Regions from separate parts of the Homo sapiens genome. Here region 2 is linked to region 1. Evidence: promoter capture Hi-C in 16 types of primary human blood cells and fetal thymus (Javierre and others, 2016). All regions are on one chromosome and are shown on one strand. The core of a region is centred on a gene start or on the middle of the fragment in contact, and the rest is flanking DNA. Distances in the headings are between cores, read along the strand shown. Region 1 holds the start of FBXO34 (F-box protein 34). Region 2 overlaps PELI2 (pellino E3 ubiquitin protein ligase family member 2).

Region 1 (4,987 bases), core at 162-2,661:
TTAAATCAGACATACAGTTTGATGCCACGGTGTACCATATAACACCCTTCCTTAATTTTTTTTTTCCTTTTTGAGATGTGAGCCACCGTGCCTGGACTTCCCCTCTCCAATTTTTATTAAAAATATGTATATAGATAAAGGTCTAGATGGAGATACTGAGTGGTTATTTCTTGGTGATGAGATTATGGGAAATATTTTTATTTTGTTTTTACGTTTTAATATTTAAGATTTTACACATATATTTTACAACAGTAGTTTTATAATTGGACAAAATTATTTTTGTTAAGGACTGGCTAAAATCAAAGTTGCTGGTTTAAGTGTAACTTGGTACAACCTTTTAAAAATCATTTGGCAGTTTGTATTAGTAACTGTGAAAGTGTTGATAGTCTTTTTCACCTAGTAATTTCACTTTTGGGTATCTTTAAAAATCTACATTCATGAAGATGTTCTATGATTTCTTTATAATGGCAAAAAGTGAATGAAGGAAACAAGTTATGTCCAAAAATAGAGAATTACTGCAGTAAATTTTATGTCCACTTAATGTAATTTTATGCAGCTGTTAAACTGGTTATGAAGCTTATGTGGAAATATGAGGAATGCTTATAAAAGTGAAAAGAGGATGCAAAATCGCGTACAACTACTATTACAGTGTAGTAAAATATATGTGATGGGGCAAAAGGTCTAGAAGAAAATACATTGTCCTCATGTTTTTCAATGTGGTTAATATTATTTTCACAATGAAAACAATAATAAGCTTAAAGATTGGGAATCAAAAGTTCCTCACTGGCCCTCTGATTTGAATATAAAGTGTTAAAAATTTATATCCATCATTAACCAGCCCTTAAGCTTCTACAGACTTTAACAGTTTCGTGTCAGCCTCAACGTTTATCTACTTTCTGACCGGTATCCCTGCCATGATTTTCATAGGAAAGAGAGTCAGAAGGGACCTTTCCAATTTTGTCATTTTACAAATTGAAACTCTGAACCCCAGCCTTCCAAGCTAGCAGCAGAACCAGTATGAGGATCCAGGTCTACTAGGTTATCTAATAGTATCTGAGACCATTTACAGCTTCAGGTCCACCCACGAATATTCATAAACTTGACATGTCTGCTGATTGAACCCTGGCGTCACTACCCTTCTTGGCTGGCCTGGGAGGTTTGATTCCTTTCCCTACAGTCGTGCTCAAACTTTCATTCTCTACCACTTGGGGGCCGCAGACGCGTCATCCAGGTCTCCCTTTTCACTTCCCCCTTCCCGCCCCCAGTGTCCGGCAGGGGGCGCCGTGAAACTCTGGATCCGTGGCCCCTCCCCCGGCCAACCGTCGATTGGGCCGGCGCGTGACGTCACTCCGTTTTAGCCAAACAAATGGGTTTCGGGGCGAGCGTTGGGCGCCGCCGCGCCGCGCTGGGTGCTCGGTCCGACTCAGCGGTGGGGAGTGAGCCAGGCCTCCCGCCACCGCTGCTGCCGCCACCACTGCGTCGGGCTGGTGCAGCCCCGGGCCAGGCCGCGGCCGGGGCAGGAGCGCAGGTGGGTCCGGGCCGAGGTGGGGCGTGGCGCGAGGGCCGCGCGACTGGGGTCCGGCGGCGGCCACCGTGGCCGCTCCCCGCCCCCTACCGCCGCCTGCCTGCGCTCCCGGGGCGCGGGGCGGGTGGGGGTGGGGGCGGGGGCGCCGCCCGCGGGTCCGGGGTAGGGACCCGGCCGCCTGCGCCTCCTCCGGTGCGGCTCTTTCCGCGCGCACGGCCCGGGCGCTGAGCGTCCCCGCGGGCCACGGAGGGTCGGGCGGGTAGGGAGCGGGGTCCTGGGTCCCCGCTGAAGCCGAGGAGATTCACGGATAGGCCGTGAGCTTGCACCGGACCGGCGCTCCCACTTACGGGACCCAGGGCGGTGAGGAAGTCAGCCTCTGGACTGGGGTCGCCTCGCCCCTGTCGCGCCCTCCCGGGCTCGGCCACTCTGCCCTTCCCTGCCCCAGCGCAGGTGAGCTGGCGCTTGTCCTTAACCTTCTTCAACGACGAGGCGGGACGGAGGCTCGGACGCCTCCCCAGCCTCTGGGCTGGCGCAAGTCGACTGCGGTTCGTCCTCAGTCCACGATGAAGTCATAGGGCTGTGGGTCCGTGTGTCTGTGACGTCAGAAGATGGGTCCTGGGATGTCACTGCAGGCCCGGGCGGGGACCTGGGCTCACGGAAGGGCCGGGGGGACCCGCAGGGTAGAAAAAGGAAGTTGTCTTCCACGAACGCTTGGAATCGCAGTGGATTTGAATCGAAAGTTGTTCGGTATCAGCATTTTGCAATTTTAATGTAATAGTTGTCAATTTCTTTAACTTCTTGTCCAGCAAGCGTTGCGAGTACAGCTCAGTATAAGACATTTGATTTAGAAAAACTTAAGTCAGGGTAGGAGGTTTTTTGGAGGGTGTAATGTAAAAAGCCTTTTAGGAAGCTAAATTCGTAGTTTGATAGTTTGCAATCAGAATTACTGAAAAAAAAGAGAACCACTTCTAGTGTTGATAAATCAGTTTGCTTTTTTTTTTTTTTTTTAACTGGACATCTATCTGCTTGTTAGCATTTTTTGTTAGAAAATGGCCAGGAGGAGGGAGAGTGGATCTTACATGATTTTTTTTTTCTGTTGTAAAGGGAGGGAGGAGTTTGAATTAATCCAACATTTGTCTTAAATAATAATTACCTGAGGAGTTAATTTATCCAGGTTGTCCCTATCCCACCCTATGGTACCATGCTACCACCCCATGCTACCATGGTTTAGAAGTCAGCAACAAGCTGTTTTCTTGCTTTCTTACTGAGACCCGGCTATAACTTAATATAAAAACATATTCCAGGACCGCTTGTCTGGATAGGTAACTAAAATTTTGTCTGTAGTGCTTTTAAATATGAAATTAGAGAATAAAAAAATGATTTGTCTGTGAATACTGTTTTTCTTCCAAAGCTTTCAGAAGAGATCTAACTGGAAGAGAAGCTAGTCACTTTGTCATAGTGACCCTCTTCGGGTATTCCAGCATATCAGTACTTTTCATTTCCTCCTCTGTAGAATAATGTAAATGGAATCTAGTTCAAAAGGTAGATGGCTTAAACTTGAAGCATAGTTAGTCTTTAGCAGGAAGCTTGGGTAGAAGTCCTTAATCCTTCCTCACTGACCTTGACTTGTAATGGTACGGTTTTTTTTTTTTCCTCTCTCTCAATACTTCCTGCTCCCCATTTGCCTTTTAGAGGTGATTGATAAGATACTGTCTCTCTGGGTTTTACATCAACATGCAGATGGAAGTTATGCCCATTTTCAGGCAGGAAATAAAAGCAAAAATTTACCCGTTAGGTACTATTGGATTTGACTGGAAGTTCACAAAACAAGGCTTTCCTGTACATGTTATTTTGATCCTCACCACAACCTTGGGAATTTGACAGCATTGTGTGCGCTACTGAAAGTTGTTCTGGTTTTTTCTTCCTTCTTTTAAGAAATGAGGAATTTTATGCTGACAGTGTTGAGTGAAGTCTCTAAAGATACAATTTTGTATACAAATTATTTTTCGTATGTACAAATTTTGTATACAAAATTTTGTATGAAAGATACACATTTGAGCCTTTGGATCACCAGAGACTGAGAGGCACTTGAATTATTATGCAACTGCTGATATTGAGAGTGTTAGTCAACCTTTAAGATGAAAGAATCTTGGCAAGATACTATGTAATGCAATTGAAGGAGGTCCAAAATGGACGCTTGCATGTGTCTTTCCCGAGCGGTAGCGATTCTGGGGCCGGCTACACGGCTGTATGTAAGTTAGGTGTACTAGTTTTTTTGTATGTTTTTTTGAAACAGAGCCTCGCTCTGTCACCCAGGCTGGAGTGCAGTGGTGCGATCTCGGCTCACTGCAACCTCCGCCTCCCGGGTTCAAGCGATTCTCCTGGCTCAGCCCCTCGAATAGCTGGGACTACCGGTGCGTGCCACCATGCCCGGCTAATTTTTGTATTTTTAGCAAAGACGGGGTTTCACTGTGTTGGCCAGGCTGGTCATGAACTCCTGACCTCGTGATCCGCCCACCTCAGCCTCCCAAAGTGCTGGGACTACAGGTGTGAGCCACCGTTCTCGGCCAGGTGTGCTAGTATTAATGGGAAAGGATGAAAGTCAGACTAAATAAGAGTTGAAAGACCTGCAGCTGATAAGGAGATACCTGCTATTCGGCAGTGCATTTTTCCTCTCTATTTTGCTTAGCAGTTAGGAAGTTTTTATTTTTCCTCATGGAAAATGAGTTAATAGGTGAAGAATAAATGTCATAGTGCATACTGATGTGACTGAGGGACAACGACAGATATTTAAAAAGCCAGCTTGTGAGTGTTGTGTAATTATCTAACAAGCCAGAACTCGTGTGAAACATTTTTACAGTCTGTTTCTATTTTTGGCAGGATCTTTTTCACCCATGCTTTCCAGTTTTGGGTCTGGGAAGCAGCTTTTACTTCATATAAATGGTTTTATGGAAATTAATTTTGAGATTGGTTTATTATTTTAAGTCATTTTATTCACTTATATAATTTGAAGGCACTAAATTAAACAGTCATTCGTTATCCATCTTTCTGATGGATAAAAGCAAATGTCAAGATGAGAGTGCTGTATTGTAGAAATTCCTCAGGATATGTTTATTGGATCAGTTATTTTATTAACATTTAGAATTTAAATTCTTAAAAATTTTTACTTTATTTTTTAAACTTAATTTATGTTCAGCTAGCTTAATTTGACAGTTTTTATGTTCTAGTAACTTTAATCTTGTTTTAATATTTGTTTGGGAGAAAACATACTTATCTTTAGAGACATCATTTAGTGTTATCTTCCAAAATTTGCAGCTGTTTAGAACCAGATACTTGAGGGAAGCTACTATGGTATGATGAATGCCTTCCTTGTTAGGTCATGTGTGACAAAGGCAAAATTCAGCAAGTGCATAATCTGCAGTCCTTTGGAAGCAACAAAAACAAAAAAGAGCAGATTAACTC
Region 2 (4,663 bases), core at 70-2,569, 850 kb after region 1:
TCTGGGGTATAAATATTGGAAAACAGAAAATTTCAAGTAGATTTTCTGAATAATGAGATGATTCCTGAGATCTAAAAATGCCTAATATTTGGTATTGATAGAAGCTTTGCTTGTCAAATTCAGTGCTTTTTTTTTTTTTAATGGTTATGTGACTGTCCTTTTTGCTCACTTTCGAATGTCATAGTGAAACATTACTAGGAAATCCTGGAGAGCAGAATGAAGAGCTGATAGATGTCTATATCCATATCTAAATACTTCTATATCTTTTTGTGTGTTACACAGTATTATTAAGAGATTCCACATAGCTAGGATTTTAGTGAGCTCATCACTTTCTGGGCTGATTAGTGGAATTTAATTATTTCATGATTCCAGCCAGTTAATGTATCATAGCCACAACTCTTTGTTGTGTCCACTACTTAACTGAAGGTAGAGAAAAATGACTGGTCTAACCAGCAGGTCTTTTTGCTATAATTTTAAACTTACGTTTTAAGGTTAGGGAAGTGGCTCAGGATTTGAGAGGCAGTTTGGTATAGTGGGAAGAACATGCATTTACAGGTGGGTGACCTGAATAAGCCCTTCTCTCTTGCTGACTGGCTCTGTGACTTTGGCTTAATTCCTCCTCCTCCTCTCTGTTTCTTTATCAATTTGCAAAATATGATTGGATTAGGTAGGCTTCAAGAGCCCTTCCTGGTCTGTGCTCAGTAATTCTGTTCATTGGCGCAAATGTAGAAACTATTTAGTTACATATTCTAAGTTCCCTGACAGTTGTTTTAATAGCAGAAAAGATCAATGCTGTGGTTGTTTTTTATGAAGATGTGCGTAAAAACAGAATGTTTAAAAAAGTTGTAATGATATACATCTGTTTGACTCATTGGTGTTAGGTTACCCATGGGAGCATTTAAATTGTGTAAAACTTTATGTTCCAAGTTTAAGAAAGACAGTGATGTTTTGAAATTTAGCTAAATAGACTGAAATAACCAGCATAAAGAGGAGATGATCTCATGATAAAAATTTAGAACTGAATAGCATTAGGGGAAATTCCTAATGTAGATGATGGGTTGATGGGTGCAGCAAACCACTATGGCACGTATGTACCTATGTAACAAACCTGCACATTCTGCACATGTATTCCAGCCTTAAAGTATAATAAAAAAAAATTAGGACTGGAAGGGGGCCTAATGGTCATGGTATATGTTTAGCCCTTATATTTTATTCTTGAGGACACAGGCTCCCAGAACAAGAGAGGTTCAAGTTCATAGTTGATCTGGGCTGAGCTGGGTGGCTGTACTCCCCTACTCTACCCTTTCCTCACTTTAAGACAGATTCCAGCAGCGCTGTCAGTTCCTCAAAGCATCCTTTCTGGATTCAATTTGAAGCATGTGGCTCTCTTGCTGACTAATGGCCCATGGTGGTTTTTGGAAAAATATTGCTTACTCTCTTAGTTCCTCTCACCTCACAGTTGAATGGATAATGCATTTTGCAAGACTTTTTTTTTTTCTTTTGATGCTTCACAAAATGTATTTTTATTGGCTCTCTCAACCAAGGGTTCTTAACCTAGGGTCCACAGATGGAGTTCGGGACATTCTTGAACTTAGATGGGGGAAAAACATGTCTTGATTTTCATGATATTCAAACTGCAGTTTAGCATTTTCATTCACTTATGAGTGTAGGCAACAAAAAGACTTGCTGCTAGATTTTGTTATTTAATGCATTATTACAGAAGTGCACATGTGTATAGCAATTTAAGACTTTTGATATTTAAGTATAAGTGATTCCAATTGTAATCCTTTGTATTTTATTTTGTATGTTTAAAAACATTAGTCTGAGAAGGGCTCATTACATGTCATCAAACTGCCAAAGGGATTCTTGGCACAAAAAGAGGGTAAGAACCTCTACAAATGAAAATTTATAAATATGACTAAATATGACTGAAAAATGAAGTATTTTAGTAGAAATTGATAAGCTCTACAAAAGGAGGTAGATACCTGCCTCATTTCCTTTGGATGATTCAGTGTTTTGTTAGGTAAGACAAAGAGGGGTATAGTAGCTTGTAGAGTTTATGGTCTTTTTTTTTTTTTTAAAAGCAGGTCCCACTTTCTGTATGCTTTTTGTTGTTGCTGTAACCTCAGCACTTTGCCTTGACTACTCCACCCTTTGGTGGCAATAAGAAACCTTCAAATATACCCTAACACTTTTCCTTTTCTCATCCTCCACTCTAATTTGGGCCCAAAGACATCAAACATTAGTATCTTTTATAGACTAAAAGGTCTTTGAACTTTAAAAAAATTTATAAAACAAAATCTTTACTGTAGCTCAGCATGTGGGGTGATCTGAAGAGCTCAGATCTGTTTGTGTGGATGGAGTGTCTAATTCTGTGGGCTATTAAGGGTTACGGTGTTACTGGCTTTGAGTTGCTATATTTTCCTTTACTAACTTTAGCCTTGTTTGGAATATGTGGCTGTCTGTGTTGCTGTGTGGTTTCTGGTCTGGCTTTCTCAGATTTATTTATTTCTCTCTTTAACACACCAAGACTGAAAGCTTCATTAGGTCTTTTCATTTCTGGTTGTGTTTCATCCTGTGATCAATATTTGGGGATGCTGTGTATAAATGAAAGTAAAACAGGCTTGATTCAGGTTCAGTAATTTTACCAAACATTTTATCGAAAAGATAAAATACTTATGCACAAAGGACCAAAACAAAACAAAATAGCCGTTGCTATATTTGAGGAAGACCAATATTGTCACATTGGAGCACTGGTTTTATATCTGCTGTGCAGGGCTTGCAGTGTGGCCTTCCTGAAAGTAGGTATATGGGGTTGTAGGTTGGCTTTTGAATGGAGACAACAGCAACTTGGTAGACCTCATTGGTATGGGAGAAAAATAACTGTGAAAAGGAATTTATAATGTCTTTTGATTTAATTAAACGTTTCTCCTGGGGTGTGCAGAAATCTATTTTATAAAAAGAAAAGTAAAGGTTAGAATAATTCAGTTATTAGTTCTTACTGAGCTTATTGTCACCTTCATCTTCTGGAAAATAAAATAATAAGAGCAGAAAGTGCTTCATATTTCTTAGCTTTGTCTAAATCACCTGTTCTCAACCACTGTCTCAAGTACCTCATATGTGATGATCAGTCTTGAGGGTATGTGGCCAGTAATTTATGACAAGTAATAAAGTGTGGATCTTTCAAATGATTCAGATATGTCATGTTAATAATGTCATTTTTCACCCTTTTGCATTCTGATGTGTTTTCTCAAGTGGGAGAGAAAGGGGTGGAGTTACATCAGGCAAGCCAGGAATGTATGCATTCAGCAAATATTTATTGGCTGTCTACTCTTCCAGGCATGAGGAATACAGCTAGGACAAGGCAGACACATTCCTTTTCCTGGTGAACTGCTCTCTTATTTTTGTCCCAGCCTCTTTGTGAATAACCGTTACTGATACATGGTTCATTTATTTATTCCCCAAATATTTGAGCATCTGCCACTTGTCAGATGCTGTGGATTGCACTAAGGGATACGCAGATGAACAAGACAGTCATGGTCCCTGCTGCTGCAGCACTGACAGCCTAGCTGGAAGACCTGAAGGCTGGGATGGTGGATGTGTTAGCAGGGTCCCCTAGCCATGTGCCAGGATGAGATGGGGATGACCACGATGGAGATAAGAGGGAAGGAGTGCTTTCCGAAGAAGGTTTGGAGTATTCTGCAACCTAGAGATGAAAACGTGCAGCTACTTTGAGGAACAGAGAAACACTCTTTATGGCTAGGAAAGAATGATTGAATGAAACATTGTGAGGGATGATGATGGGGGGATATCATGAAGGGCTTATAAGATATTGGAAGGGGTTTGGACTTTACCCTAAGAGCACAGGAGACTGTCTCAGGGTTTTGCTAGTATGAGATGGGAGTGAAGAAAGCCCTCTGCTCTTTGCAGAGTGGAGTTGGAAGGCACAGTGGAGTTGGAAGGAGAAACTGAGGCTGCAGCCCAACAAGGCAGAGAGAGAATGGAGTGTGAGCTAGAGGGCAGCTGTCTTGCTTCTAGTTCCTGGTTCGGGTACCTCCTGAGACCTAGTTTCGTGTGATTGACCATTCATTCAGTGACTCAAGATACTGACTGAGGACCAGCACTGCTCCCAGCCCTGGGCTACACCAGCAAACAAGACAGACAGCTGCCCTTCCTGCCTGCTTGGAGCTTACCTTTTTTTGAGAGAGGTGAGCAAGCAAAGGAGTAGATAAAAAATGGAACTTCAGAGACTGCTGGGAGGAAACTAAAGCAGGATAAGGAGGAAGAGAGTTATTGGGTGGGCAGGGGGGGGGTGAATTGGCAGGGTGAAATGCTAGGGATAAGGTAGTGGGGGATCCTTTTGGACAAAATAATCAGGAAAAGCTTTTCCGAGAAAATAGTCCTGTGTCCTTTGAGAGTCCCCACTTCTTTCGGTTTTTACTTACTTTTTTTTCTGTTTAAGCCACCTTGAGTGGGTTCTGCTCTTTCAATCAGAAGATTCCAAGTATCCCGTTAAGAGGCAACGTATATAAGCAATTTACTGAAGGGAAAAATAGAAGTGTAAACAAATACAAGGGCAGATAGTTAAGTATCCCTGGACAAAAACGTGGTTCTGCCCTCTGTGCTGCTTGCCATGTGCCCAGAGTGGCCATTGAATTCCACC

What was found. The method cuts DNA at HindIII sites, captures the fragments that hold promoters and counts their contacts. A CHiCAGO score of 5 or more calls a contact.
Region 2: a fragment that was not itself captured here is called in contact with the fragment with the promoter of FBXO34 in region 1 in 1 of 17 cell types (fetal thymus); the score reaches 8.2 in fetal thymus.

The regions. Positions count from the first base shown.
Region 1 is chr14:55,270,010-55,274,996 of GRCh38, forward strand. FBXO34 (F-box protein 34) reads left to right here and starts at 1,412. Exons shown (of 2, transcript NM_017943.4): 1 at 1,412-1,528. It overlaps FBXO34-AS1 (FBXO34 antisense RNA 1), which reads right to left and starts at 2,069. Exons shown (of 2, transcript NR_184222.1): 1 at 1,873-2,069. RefSeq lists a silencer at 1,464-1,963. The HindIII fragment of the contact is 2,090 bases long and covers 845-2,934 here.
Region 2 is chr14:56,121,113-56,125,775 of GRCh38, forward strand. The region is part of intron 1 of PELI2 (pellino E3 ubiquitin protein ligase family member 2); the gene reads left to right. Among named protein-coding and RNA genes, the nearest start is that of PELI2, 5.0 kb to the left of the region's middle. The HindIII fragment of the contact is 2,434 bases long and covers 103-2,536 here.